Linked DNA regions of Homo sapiens: region 1 is linked to region 2. Evidence: promoter capture Hi-C in 16 types of primary human blood cells and fetal thymus (Javierre and others, 2016). All regions are on one chromosome and are shown on one strand. The core of a region is centred on a gene start or on the middle of the fragment in contact, and the rest is flanking DNA. Distances in the headings are between cores, read along the strand shown.

Region 1 (2,700 bases), core at 1-2,500, 210 kb after region 2:
AGTCAGAAAATCTGAGTGCAAGTCTGGCCCTATCACTTATTAATGGATGATTGCTCATGGAATTTACTGTACCATCCAGCAAAATGTCAATAGTTACTATATATTGAGTGAGCTCTGCTTGTTACATATATTGCCTAACAATGCTCAAAACTCTGAGAAGTAGTAAGTATAATCCCTATTTATGGGCGGGGAACAGGAACTAAGAAATTTTTCTAATAATTTGAAGGTCTCACAGCTTTTAGCATTGGAGTTTCACTTCTAATCATCGTCTCCAAAACCCAACTTTTATTAAAACTATACTAACACTGGTTTCTCTCTGGGAGAATTTTAAAATTCTGTACTTAGGGCTGGGCACAGTGGCTTATGCCTATAACCCTATCACTTTGGGAGGCTGAGATGGGTGAATCTCTTGAGTCCTAGAGTTTGAGACCAGCCTGGGCAACACGGCGAAACCCCTTCTCTATTAAAAATACAAAAAATTAGCTGGGCGTGGTGGTGTGTGCTTGTAGTCCCAGCTATTCAGGAGGCGGAGGTGTAAGAATCACCTGAGCCCAGGAGGTCAAGGCTGCAGTGAGCCGATATCATGCCACTGCACTCCAGCCTGGGCAAACGGAGTGAGGCCCTGTTATGAAAAAAAAAAAATCTGTACTTAGGCTTTCAGATCAGGCTGTATGTGATGTATGTCGAAAACACAGCTATAATTGATTGAGGGAGAAACGTTACCATTTTAAAGTTTATGCTTTCAAGCCCAGATTTGGCCACTAGGAATTTCCCAGCTCACTAGTGAAACTGCTGATGAGTGATTATTTGCCAGTGAGCCTTTCATTCTTTCTAAAATATGTACTACTAGTTGTGACTTGTAGGCTATAGGGGCTATAATATATCAAGACAATCTTTATCCTCATGAAGCTTACAGTTAAGTAAGAGATAGAGATTAAATAATTATAACAACAGAGTGAAGAACAGTGAAGAAAAAGTACAGAGTTATAATATATATAATAGGGCCAGGACTGCATGAGGAAGGTAGGAAAGACATTTCGGCAAGAGGTTGTCAGGGAAAAGACTTGCTTGAGAAAGAGCCAAGTTGTGGGGTCTGGCTGCTTAGCAATGACCATAATACCTAACTTTTGCTATTTTTACATGAAGTAACTAATTTAACCCTATGAGGAAAGTACTACTACCATCTAGATTTTACAGGTAAGTAAGCAGAGATACAGAGAAGTTAAACTCTTCACACGGCTTTGGCTTTAAACCTATATAGGCTTCAGAGCCTCCCCACTTAACCACTTTGCCATAGCTACATCCATATTAGGTGCTAAGTAGATATCTGTTAAGTAGAAGGAGGATGAAAGGATAGTTAGCTAGTTGGAAAATGGATGGATGAATGAAGTGATGCTTAAGCTAAGAACAACTTTCAGGGGTAACATGCAAAGAATAATGGAGCAAAGAAGAAAAAATAGAAAATGGGATAATCCTTTTTCTACTAAGGGGTAACCATGTGTGTTATTCATCTTCAGGCTGTGAAGGCGGCTTCCCATACCTTATTGCAGGAAAGTACGCCCAAGATTTTGGGCTGGTGGAAGAAGCTTGCTTCCCCTACACAGGCACTGATTCTCCATGCAAAATGAAGGAAGACTGCTTTCGTTATTACTCCTCTGAGTACCACTATGTAGGAGGTTTCTATGGAGGCTGCAATGAAGCCCTGATGAAGCTTGAGTTGGTCCATCATGGGCCCATGGCAGTTGCTTTTGAAGTATATGATGACTTCCTCCACTACAAAAAGGGGATCTACCACCACACTGGTCTAAGAGACCCTTTCAACCCCTTTGAGCTGACTAATCATGCTGTTCTGCTTGTGGGCTATGGCACTGACTCAGCCTCTGGGATGGATTACTGGATTGTTAAAAACAGCTGGGGCACCGGCTGGGGTGAGAATGGCTACTTCCGGATCCGCAGAGGAACTGATGAGTGTGCAATTGAGAGCATAGCAGTGGCAGCCACACCAATTCCTAAATTGTAGGGTATGCCTTCCAGTATTTCATAATGATCTGCATCAGTTGTAAAGGGGAATTGGTATATTCACAGACTGTAGACTTTCAGCAGCAATCTCAGAAGCTTACAAATAGATTTCCATGAAGATATTTGTCTTCAGAATTAAAACTGCCCTTAATTTTAATATACCTTTCAATCGGCCACTGGCCATTTTTTTCTAAGTATTCAATTAAGTGGGAATTTTCTGGAAGATGGTCAGCTATGAAGTAATAGAGTTTGCTTAATCATTTGTAATTCAAACATGCTATATTTTTTAAAATCAATGTGAAAACATAGACTTATTTTTAAATTGTACCAATCACAAGAAAATAATGGCAATAATTATCAAAACTTTTAAAATAGATGCTCATATTTTTAAAATAAAGTTTTAAAAATAACTGCATTATGGAGTTTATGTTTACTTCAGGGAATTTTTATCACTGACTCAGTAAGATTCACTTATGTTACCTATGTAAGCATTTATTTAAGAAGGAAAAGCATTTGAAGATATTTCAATTAAAAACAAAACTATGAACCTTTATGACAGGGAGATATACTCAGATAATGCCTAGTGAATCCTAAAATTATCCTTGGATGTTTGATGAGTCTGAGACCTCAGAGAAAAGAAATAAGAGTTTTGACAAAATCTGGATATTGGTGAATTTATTT
Region 2 (2,700 bases), core at 22-2,521:
TTGAATTTCCTTCAAAACAATCTGTTCCTGGTGCCCAGTGATAATTCAGTCGGGACCAGCATGACTAAAAGGAAGGGGATATGCTAAGGCTCAGCAAAGTGACCCTAAATGAGAGATATGTCCCAGGATGGAAAGAAGAAGACGTGGTTTAACCAAGTTATACTGACTAATCTAAGCAGTCCACTCATCCTTCCATTTTGGGAAAGGAGTGGGGGCAGCCTAAGAAGAACATATCTGGATTGGGAAGAACCGTCTTTCTGGGCTAGGGATGGGGAACAGAAAGGGAGTATGGAAAGAAAAATTATAAGAGATTTGACTGAAGCAAGGAAAAAAAGCAAATCCCCAAACGTGCTAATCCTTGAAAGTAACTATCTTTCCCAAACTACTGCTGTTACCAGCAAGTGATCAGGAAGACTAGGAGCTATTTCTGACTGTAAATGAATTGTATAATAGCTCTGCTGCAGTTCTGTGACTTCCAAGCCAGGAATTAAATGCTCTTTTTAAGAATAACAAAAAACAAAAGCATTTCCTATGCTAGTCTCCCAGTAAAATGTACATGTTTTGGAGACTTCAAAGGTATTATGTGAGTTCACATTTAGCAACAGCTTATTAATAACCCTCAAGCTGTCAGAATCTCTATAGTTACCATTTACAATTTTATACTGTGAAAAAATACAGATCAGTGAAAGCATAAAGACAAGTCAGAATTCACTTTGAAGAGGGTCTGAGGCCTGGGAGAGTCTCTACTGTCTATTGAAGAATGAGGCATGTATAAAATAGTTGGTTGAATTTCACTGATCTTCCCAATGTGAACAAATATACTATGTATATTGTGTGTATTTCTAGAAATCAATGGCAGCTGCTGATGGTGTTGTAATTAGAAATCTATATAGATTATAGATGTTTTAGAAAGATGGTGCCAATCCTAAAAGATTTGTGTGGGCTAAAAGTGCTTGTACTTACTTTTTTCTGCACTTATAACTGATTTGGTTTTAAAATTGTGTGCGTGTATCTGTTCTTTCTCTGTTGTGGCAGCTTGTACTATTAAAATAATAGAGAATGTTAAATTATTTTGATGTGAACTGCAAATGATTTTTTTTCATAAAGTTTAACATTTTTATCAGCATTGTTTTGCTTTGTACTTGTATAAATATGTTTTATTTTAGCACTTCAAAATATACTTGCCTGTTTCTCAGTTGTCTAAATCATGTTGTACTTGGTGTTTGTGAAGCCAGTTACTTTTCAAAAAAATTAAAAAACCTATAATATGATTTTAAGATTATTCCCCTCAAATGTTTAGAATGTTGTCTTAATAGTGTTTTCTGAGATGAAAAGAGCCATGATACTAATTAATCTTGAATACTGGATGATCTATACATTTGAATTATGGGGTTTACAAAGTAAGCAGTGGACTGTATAGATTTAAATGAAAATATAAACCAACCACAAACCAACCAGAGATGTTGTCCCCAAACACATCTACAAACAACTGTTACATAAAGAAGTACTTAAAAAAATATATAGGAAATATGCATTGTTTATGCATCTAGACATACAAATTATAGAAATAGTTTCATAATTATATGTGTTGATAGAGGTAACATCACACAGATAAAATAGATTATTTGTGTGTGTATAGATGTGTGTTTACAAACATACATATTTATATAGACATTTGACTTTTGAGTCCATCTGCATGTGTCTCTGTGTATATGTGTGTTTGTGTGTAGATGTATGTGCATATTACATAATTTTTCCAGAAAAAAAAAAAGTTTTACTTTGACTGATTCTTGAGCAAATATACATTCCCTGGACACAAATTAGTGAAAAACTAACAGCAGAATATAAGGTAGATGCTTGATGTATGGAAGAGAAAAACAAGGTATATTTAAAAATATATTTGATTTATGCTTCTGACATTGTATTAAATGCATAATGATATATATACATATGTAGATACATATATTATACAGAATGTGTTTGATCTTAACAAAGAAAGCCATTTTATCTGTTTTGTCAGACTCTTCCCTTCAGTATCTTTTATTCTAACGTGATATGAATGGTAATATGTTCACATAAAATTGAGGATGAAGTGACATATACAAACCAGGTACAGGAAATTACCTTCTAAAAATCCAAAGAGCCTTATCAGACTCCATCAAATTATGGAAGGCCATTTAAAACCAGCGGATGCAATAGAAATAGCATTGAATTAAAAGCCAGGATCTCTTACCTGTCACCAACTGACTTTGGATAAATCACTCTGATTTCTCTACAACTTGTTCCTCTTGCTTTAAATGCAGAAGTGAGTTACAATAATCTGTGAAGTTTCTATCATTTCAACATTCCTGATAAATGCTCAATAGTAGCTATTATTAGTGTCAATGTAGTATTTAGTATACAGTTAATATTCAGCAGGAAGCTTAAATTTGTTATATCAATGTTATTTGTGGAGCTTAACAAGTTCCTGTCCAACTTAAAGCATATATCCTGGAGGAAACCTATTGAGGTTTGAACTCATATGCAACCTTGGAACTGTCTATCAAGGACAACTTAGTAAATTGATATTGAACACCACAGAGAGAATGCTTTTCCTCTGTTATAATTGCTGCTGAATGCTGGCCAAGTTTTTGGTTATGCTGTACATGAATGATCAGTTTTAGAACATAAACAATTTGCAAATATTTACTTTGTATGATA

What was found. The method cuts DNA at HindIII sites, captures the fragments that hold promoters and counts their contacts. A CHiCAGO score of 5 or more calls a contact.
Region 1: a contact is called between a fragment that was not itself captured here and the fragment with the promoter of GRM5-AS1 in region 2, in 2 of 17 cell types (activated CD4 T cells and total CD8 T cells). The highest score is 6.0, in activated CD4 T cells.

The regions. Positions count from the first base shown.
Region 1 is chr11:88,293,326-88,296,025 of GRCh38, reverse strand. It overlaps CTSC (cathepsin C), which reads left to right. Exons shown (of 7, transcript NM_001814.6): 7 at 1,518-2,434. The coding sequence ends at 2,020. Among named protein-coding and RNA genes, the nearest start is that of CTSC, 43 kb to the left of the region's middle. The HindIII fragment of the contact is 677 bases long and covers 912-1,588 here.
Region 2 is chr11:88,503,147-88,505,846 of GRCh38, reverse strand. GRM5-AS1 (GRM5 antisense RNA 1) reads right to left here and starts at 1,271. Exons shown (of 6, transcript NR_049724.1): 1 at 1-1,271. It overlaps GRM5 (glutamate metabotropic receptor 5), which reads left to right. Exons shown (of 10, transcript NM_001143831.3): 10 at 1-1,205. The HindIII fragment of the contact is 8,959 bases long and covers 1-2,424 here.